Linked DNA regions of Homo sapiens: region 1 is linked to region 2. Evidence: promoter capture Hi-C in 16 types of primary human blood cells and fetal thymus (Javierre and others, 2016). All regions are on one chromosome and are shown on one strand. The core of a region is centred on a gene start or on the middle of the fragment in contact, and the rest is flanking DNA. Distances in the headings are between cores, read along the strand shown.

Region 1 (4,678 bases), core at 566-3,065, 1.4 Mb after region 2:
GTTAAACCTAAAACCATAAAAACCCTAGAAGAAAACCTAGGCATTACCATTCAGGACATAGGCGTGGGCAAGGACTTCATGTCCAAAACACCAAAAGCAATGGCAACAAAAGACAAAATTGACAAATGAGATCTAATTAAACTAAAGAGCTTCTGCACAGCAAAAGAAACTACCATCAGAGTGAACAGGCAACCTACAACATGGGAGAAAATTTTCGCATCCTACTCATCTGACAAAGGGCTAATATCCAGAATCTACAATGAACTCAAACAAATTTACAAGAAAAAAACAAACAACCCCATCAAAAAGTGGGCGAAGGACATGAACAGACACTTCTCAAAAGAAGACATTTATGCAGCCAAAAAACACATGAAGAAATGCTCATCATCACTGGCCATCAGAGAAATGCAAATCAAAACCACTATGAGATATCATCTCACACCAGTTAGAATGGCAATCATTAAAAAGTCAGGAAACAACAGGTGCTGGAGAGGATGTGGAGAAATAGGAACACTTTTACACTGTTGGTGGGACTGTAAACTAGTTCAACCATTGTGGAAGTCAGTGTGGCGATTCCTCAGGGATCTAGAACTAGAAATACCATTTGACCCAGCCATCCCATTACTGGGTATATACCCAAATGAGTATAAATCATGCTGCTATAAAGACACATGCACACGTATGTTTATTGCGGCACTATTCACAATAGCAAAGACTTGGAACCAACCCAAATGTCCAACAATGATAGACTGGATTAAGAAAATGTGGCACATATACACCATGGAATACTATGCAGCCATAAAAAATGATGAGTTCATATCCTTTGTAGGGACATGGATGAAATTGGAAACCATCATTCTCAGTAAACTATCGCAAGAACAAAAAACCAAACACCGCATATTCTCACTCATAGATGGGAATTGAACAATGAGATCACATGGACACAGGAAGGGGAATATCACACTCTGGGGACTGTGGTGGGGTTGGGGGAGGGGGGAGGGATAGTATTGGGAGATATACCTAATGCTAGATGACACATTAGTGGGTGCAGCGCACCAGCATGGCACATGTATACATATGTAACTAACCTGCACAATGTGCACATGTACCCTAAAACTTAGAGTATAATAAAAAAAATAAAATAAAATAAAATAAAAATAAATGAAAAAAAAAAAAACAAAAAACAAAAAAAGAAAAAAAAAAAAAAAAGACCCAAACAGGCCAATAACTATTAGTTATTATCTCTACTGAAAAAGTGGGACTTCCTGTTATGAATAAGGGAACTAACTGAATTCCCTGCTACCTAATTACCTTCTGTAGCTATACTTACTGACAAAAACACCATTAATTTTTTTAGATACCAATTTTTTTTAATACTATGAATCTTAAGGGAAAATGGCTTCACCTCAAAAATACTCTGTTACTTGCTTGGAAGATAGACGACTTTAAGCTGATGCTGATAAACTTGTGGCTTCCAAAGTTTTCCTTACTAATTCTAAACCCAAAAGGTGCCTGGCAGTCTCTGCTATGTCTGTTTCAAGTAACCCTAGCTCTATATCAGGAGACATTTTCCTTATAAACAGAAACATGGTAAATCTTAAGTTCCCTGCAATTGAAATGCTTGGCTGTGAATTTGATTTCATAATCAGAGCGGACTCTATAGTCTTTTCATTCAATATTCCTGCAATTAGATAACCAATCGCAGCCTAGAAACAACCTCCAAGGAGACCCAGTGACATTGCTCCCATAGTTGATGCAACAATCACCATGATGACCCAAGCTTTAATCACTCTGATGAACACTGCTCTCCTGCCTAGAGATACCACTGAGTCCAGAAGCAAGACCTGTGAGAGTGCACAGTGCCACTTCGCCCCATGGCTGAAGATGGTTTGCCCAAAATTTATTCTCATCCTCCAACAGAAAGCAGTAAAACACCAACTGCAGCAACCATTTTCTTTGGGGCTGACAATGCTATTCCCAAATCAGAAACAACTATTACTTCAGAAGGAGACCACGTCACTTCAGTAAATGAATATATGCTAGAAAGCGATTTTTCAACAACTACAGACAACAAACTGACAGCTAAAAAGGAAAAACTCAAATCAGAAGATGATATGGGGACCGACTTTATTAAGTCAACAACTCACCTACAGAAAGAAATTACCTCTCTGACTGGCACTACAAACTCCATAACAAGAGACTCTATTACCGAACATTTCATGCCAGTGAAAATTGGGAATATTTCATCACCAGTTACTACTGTTTCTTTAATAGATTTTTCCACTGACATAGCAAAAGAAGATATCCTCTTAGCTACCATTGACACAGGAGATGCAGAGATCTCAATAACCTCTGAAGTCTCTGGCACACTAAAGGACAGCAGTGCTGGTGTTGCTGACGCTCCTGCCTTTCCACGTAAAAAGGATGAAGCTGATATGAGCAATTATAATTCCTCCATCAAATCCAATGTCCCTGCTGATGAGGCTGTCCAGGTCACTGATTCCACTATTCCTGAGGCTGAAATCCCTCCTGCTCCTGAAGAAAGCTTCACTACTATTCCAGACATAACTGCCCTTGAAGAAGAGAAAATAACCGAAATTGACCTAAGTGTTTTAGAAGATGACACCAGTGCTGTGGCTACATTAACTGACTCTGATGAGAAGTTTATCACTGTGTTTGAACTCACTACCTCTGCTGAAAAAGACAAAGATAAACGGGAAGATACTCTGCTAACTGATGAAGAAACTACCGAGGGAGCCAGTATTTGGATGGAGAGAGATACTGCAAATGAAGCAGAGACCCATTCTGTTTTGCTTACTGCTGTTGAATCCAGATATGACTTCGTTGTCCCTGCATCAATAGCTACAAACCTAGTGGAAGAATCATCTACAGAAGAAGATTTGTCTGAAACTGATAATACAGAGACTGTACCTAAGATCACTGAGCCATTTTCTGGAACTACCTCTGTATTAGATACCCCAGACTATAAGGAAGACACCTCCACAACTGAAACGGATATCTTTGAACTACTGAAAGAAGAACCCGATGAGTTCATGATTTAAAAGCAACAAAAGGGATACCATGTAGAATTGTGCAATAGTCTAGCCAGCTAGCCTTAACATCTAAGAAATTTTTCCAACAAGCAAAAACCTTTAGAAATGAAAGAATGTGGGCATTTAAGGCAAGTATTCGACTCAATAAATGCAGATGCTTAGGACTACAGGTCATGTAACAGATTTACGGAAACTTAGAAAAAAAAACCGCAGTGTAAGGGTCCCCCTAGTATCACAAAGTTTCAATATTCTAACAATTACTTAATGTAAAATTTTTCGTCCTAGCCTTCAGGGAGTATGAAGACAGAGCAATGTAGGGGCTCATTTCTACAACATTTAATGATGCATATCATTTAGTTAACAGTCAATATTATACTTAAGTGAGAATTAAGGATATGAAGAGAAGCAAATTAACCTCTCCAAAACATTACCATAGCCTAAAAAGTTCTCCCAAAATGCTTGTTCTAAGCAATTTTTTCATTAGTATTTCATCAGTGATTCTCTTCTATTTAAAAAATTTTTAATCCTCATATAAGAATTAAGACAATTCAGTAATTGTTTAGCACCCACATGTAAGATACATAAGATTTATGATAGGGTTCTTGGCACATGTTAGATACAAACTAAAGCAAAATGATATTTTACAAATATGCATATTTGTCAGAAAAATGTTCTGTAAACATATACATCAATTTAATTTTCTTTCTGTTAAAATGTGTTTTCTGAATTTTTGTCCATGTTTTCCAGGTCTTAAACACTGAATATCACACTCTTCTTATGACTCTTGTTAGCGATTCAAGGACATAAATCTTCATTCTTTTCTGGCACAGACTACTTAAATGGGTCTGTTTTCACTTTGCTCATTTTTCTTCAATAAATCTTTTTGGCAAGCAACTGATTTACTGTGTGTAGGTGTGTTTGATATTCTACTACAGACTTCTCAAATTAGGAGAAATAAAGAGAAATGAAAATTCATTGTTTGTTTAAAGAATAATATAGCTCTAATCCCCAGAAGTAAAATTATTCTATAGAGATTCATAATTGTATTACACTAAAAAAAGAAATAAGAACAATGCCAAAACACCAAGTGAATGAAAGATATTATGTACGGGGGGTTTGTATAGGGATTTGCACCATTAGATAAACTATAGACTAGAATAATCACAACAGTGTGTTAAAACCCAGAAACAAATTACGAAACAAAAATTTGTTATACAGTGAAGTGGACTTCAAAAACATGGGATATAATAGTTAATCTTACTTGAACAATCAGTATTTGGGAAAAAAATATGTTGGAATAATAAACAAATTTTTAAATTCTTTTTAAGACCATACTTTAAAATAAATTCTACATGGATTAAATACTTTAATGTAAAAACTAAAACCATACAAAAACTTAGGAGGAAATGTACCTGTATATCTATCCAAATGGACCTGAGAAATGTAAGCATATATGAAAAGGTGATAAGAAGATTGATAGGTTTGACACCATGAATAGTTAAAATTCTGAAACAAAGAAAATTAACATAAAATTAAAAAGTAAATAACTAATTTTATTTTACATAGCAGTGAAAAGATTACTATCATTTTTCTATAAAAGTTTCTACAAAGTATTTTAAATGAAC
Region 2 (4,653 bases), core at 1,860-4,359:
TGTACACTGGAGTAGCACTTTTAATTTCCTCCAAAAACTTTTCCTTTGCACTCACATCTTGTTTAACTGTTTGGTGCAATGGTGTAGTTTTTGGCCTGTCCCAGGCTTTTTTTGTTGCTACAAAGGAACAACTGAGGCTGTCTAATTTGTAAAAGAAAAAGGTTTTTATTTGGCTCACAATTCTTCATGGTATACAAGAGGCATGGCACCAACATCTGTGTCTGGTGAAGACCTCTGGTTTCCTCCACTCATTGAAGAAGATGTTGGGAGCCAGCAAGTGCAGGGATCAGATAATGAGAGATATGCAAGAGAAAGAAGGTGGATGTTCCTGGCTCTTTTTAATAATTATCTCTCCTGGGACCTAATAGAGTGAGAACGAACTCACCCATTTCCCCAGGGAGAGCATTAATGTACTCATAAGGAATCTACCCTCATGACCCTAACACTTCCCATCAAGCCCCACCTCCAATATTGGTGATCAAATTTCAACACAGGATTTTGTAGGGTCAAGCAAACCATATCTAAACTATAGTACTCATTAAACTTATTCCTTTATATTTTTGGTTTAAATTGAGAGACCTGCTACTTTTCTTTTCACTGGAACATTTAGAAGTCATTGTATGTTATATTACTGTGTCTCAGGGAATAGGGAGGCCTAAGAAGAAGTGGGATGGGGAAACGAATCAGCGGAGCAGTTAGTACATGCACAACATTTATAATTAAGTTTGCTGTCTTATATTGTAACACATCAAGGTGCCCCCAAGCTAATAAACGTGTAACCATCAAGGAACACTGATCCCAGATCACCGTAACAGATATAACAATGAAAAATTTGAAAAAGCATGATAAATGCCAATATGTGATAGAGTCAAAAGTACACACTTGCTGTTGGAAATATTACGCCAAATTGATTAGCTTGACTCAAGGTTTTCAAAAACCTTTAATTTGTAAATTGCAATTTTTGTGAAGGACAATAAAGCAATGTATAATAAAATGAAATACACCTGTGCGTAAGCACTTATGGAAATAAATCCTTGAATTGAAATTGACTGATATCCCTTTTCCTATAGTTGTTTGAATATATACTCTTGATTTAGACTCACAATAGATAATTCTATAAAATATATAATAATCAATAATTTAGTAAGTTGGAGCTACATAATAAATATAGTTATTAAATGAATTTCTTATATATCAAGCTGCTCCATGATTTTTAAAGAATTGTTGGGGAATTTCTGAATGCATGGCCAGAACCCACTTTTGTTTATTGGAAAATGCTCTTTCACCCCTTTGATAACACTTTTGTTTTATTTTAAATTTCAATCTTGTCAGGGGGCTTTTACTATAATCCTATTTTACCAAAATTTGCCAGTGACCTCTATATAGCTGTACCCCTTTAAATTAATATCTGAATGTAGACTTGAGGCCAAGAGATTTGTATTGTTTACCTAGATCCATAAAGCCTGGTAGGCTATCTGCAGCTAGGCACAGCTTACTGAATGGAAAATTATTTAAAGCAAATCAATACATGTAAATTCAAATCATGTCTAAGGCTAAGGACATTTGAACTGGGATCCTCTGAATATTAGTTCTGTGAAACAGTCTATGCATAAGAATTCGTTGGAATACATTAAACAATATTTTAGTGTCGAATATAATTGTACCTTTTTTCATGTTTCTACATAATTCTCAAACATATTTGGATAAAAACATGTCTTGCATTGACCAGCTCTGATCACAACTATATGAAAATTGCAAAGCAAAACAACTTTTTATCAGTAAAGCAAGGAAATAAAAATAAGTCAAGTAGGTGTATATCAGTAAAGTAAAAATTCTACTATCTTATGCCCCACAAGACCGTAAGTCTTTTAACTTTTTATAATATTTTTTCAAGTTTTTGTGAAGTAATCACCTAAGAAATTAAAGAATTCTAGAAAATGTTCAATTTAATGACTCTTGAAAAATTAATTCAAAGAAGACCTTCTGAAGATTTTCTTAAATACATGATGAGAGAGAAAATAATGATTAGCATTTTATTTCAATAGAAATTCTATAAAATTCAGACTAACAATCAGTGATTCTCAAAAATATGTGATGTTGATTTGCGCTATTTGGAGGAAATACAAAATATAATCTCTTAGTTATTGATGATCATTTTTAAGTATATTACTGGTATTAAGAAAGTAGGTTATCTTACGCTTAGAACAAATACACTTTCTTTATGAAAAACAGCTACAACATTTTCTAAAAAAACTCATTGACCTGCATATATATGTCATAGACAATGTATGACAATTTTTAAAAATATTTCTTTTGATAACTAAATTAAAAATAAAACAAAAGTGTCTTACCTAATGCCTTACTATAAAACTCTTCCCAAAAATGATAGTCGTAATCCTGAATCCAGAAGTGGAACAAAACTGAAAGCATTGAATTTTTTACTCTTTCCAGAAAGGTCATTCTGTCTGTTAGTCCTGTCATAGGCACAGGTACATAGGAAAGTGGAGCTGGAAGTTTCCCACAGCTTCGCTCCATATTGCCTCCTACAGAAATTCTAAGTGTGAGCACAAAAGGGACTGCAAGCAACTCAGCCATCAGGTCTCCACAGGGAATCACAGGGTCTATAAGCATTACATCGTAGTTGGTTTCCTGTAGCTTCTTCATAAGCGTCTGATTGTAGATAAAGCTCTCACACATCATTTTTAAAGTTCCTCTTATTTCAACAAAAAAATCATTTAATTTTATAACTGATTGCCAGGTTGATAAGCCTGGCAAGACATTCAGAGCTAGGTCAACAAATATTTCATTTTCTTCTGTTCTGTCCTGTGGCATATGGACCACCTCAAATTTCAATGCAGAAGGCTTCCTGTAGTCAATTAACGAAGGCTTTGAGTGAGTCAATACTGTTACCTCATGGCCTCTCACTATGAGCTCTTCTAGAATGACCTTGACATTAAGCCAATGGCTCATGTCACAGGGCCACACCAGGACTTTCCCACAGAATCCACAGCCAACACAGAAGAGCTGCAGGAGCAGAAATACCAAAGCTGACTTGTCAGACCTCATGATGGCAGTTCCCTCACACACTGATCTGCAATGGTTTTGTAGTTACTAAGCAAGGAGTTGAAATGACAATATAAGCACAGAAGTTAAAAATTAATATTTTAAGAGTAAAGTTCACTGGTGGTTGCCAGTTTAACATGTACTGAAGGTATCAAAAAAATGCAATGTATCAGGGAAAAGTTGTTCCAACCCTCTAGAACTTAGAAATAAAATACATAAATATACTTTTATTACCTGGATTGATGATAAAGAAAAAAATTTTTCAAGTCTTTAGATTTAATAATTCATGTGCAGAAACATGCACACAATCACACTTACATTCATTCCACACTAAGTCCAAGGCATCAGATGGTTTAGGACAGCACATGTTTCACATCCCTTGCTCACAAGGACAATACAAAGGTTTACTGAGAATATACTTAGAGAGTTTGGGTAACTATTTTGACTAATTTTATATAATAAGTACAAAGTGTTCAGTATTTCAGAGGGGAAAATGCACAATTGCTTTAATATGAAATAATAAAAGCTTTAATAAGGCATTTGACTTAGGAGGTGAGATGAAAGCTTTGATAGGATTTACTGTTGCCAAAGGAAGCATTTCACAATCGATAGAAGCATACAAAAGTATAGGATATTTGAAAATCATTCCAGTGAGTAGTGGTCACAGAGAAAGTTCAGAGCAGGACGTTACAGAAGAAAGTTAGTTTGAAATTGGAGAACATAATTTTAAATAAAAAATTATGAGTTTGAATCATAATTTATAGGCAAATAATTATTTACTCAAGTTTTAAAGGATAGTCACAAGATCAACCTTTTCTTTAGCAAGAAACTCTTGCATCTCAACACAGAGTGGTATGTAAAGGTAAGAGTTTAAAACAGGGAAAACGATAAAAATTATATATTAGTTACTGAGACATGTCAACCTAATAGAATGAAACATAAATTGTTAATAGTTAAATGCAAGAAATTAATTTAAAATTTGAATTTACTGATAATATCTGAGATAGGAAAAAATGTGTAGGAGAAAAGACATGGTTGTGGTTTCTGTCTTAATAAGCAGAAGTTTGATAATGACATTAGGTAAAATATTATGCACAAAACTTAGAGCAGTTTTCAGAATCAATATCATCTAACTGGGTTATTTTTCCTGTAGTTACTGTTCAAATTTTCAACAACTGTATGTAGATGTGAACAAAAAATAAAATTTTAGGAATCCCCAACCATCTAAACGGACCCTTACTCTCAGCAAAGAGCATTTCAAAGTTAATCTCAAAAACTAGTTGAGGCAATGATGAGAAGTGGGGTGGTGGGATAGGATATGCCTCATTATACCCTCCCCCCTTTCTGAATTCAGGAAAAACTCACTAGCACTACCATCAACGCAGACTTTAAAACCAATAGAACAGACTCACTAATTTTGATAAGAAACATTTACAATCTATTCTCTCTGAAGCCTGTTGCTTGACAGCTTTATCTGCATGATAACACCTTGGTATTAACAGCCCTTTATCTTAACCCAGACATTCTTGTCTGTTAATTCTATAACTTAGACAACAATATAACTCAACCAATTGCCAATAGAAAATCCTT

Evidence for each region. Contacts are between HindIII fragments. The CHiCAGO score rates a contact against its expected background, and 5 or more counts as called.
Region 1: the fragment with the promoter of CABS1 here is called in contact with the fragment with the promoter of UGT2A3 in region 2 in 5 of 17 cell types (neutrophils, monocytes, non-activated CD4 T cells and 2 more); the score reaches 10.3 in neutrophils.

What each region holds. Positions count from the first base shown.
Region 1 is chr4:70,333,166-70,337,843 of GRCh38, forward strand. CABS1 (calcium binding protein, spermatid associated 1) reads left to right here and starts at 1,816. Exons shown (of 2, transcript NM_033122.4): 1 at 1,816-3,181; 2 at 3,801-3,951. The coding sequence starts at 1,875. The coding sequence ends at 3,062. The HindIII fragment of the contact is 765 bases long and covers 1,779-2,543 here.
Region 2 is chr4:68,948,695-68,953,347 of GRCh38, forward strand. It overlaps UGT2A3 (UDP glucuronosyltransferase family 2 member A3), which reads right to left and starts at 3,110. Exons shown (of 6, transcript NM_024743.4): 1 at 2,352-3,110. The coding sequence starts at 3,066. The HindIII fragment of the contact is 6,967 bases long and covers 1-3,587 here.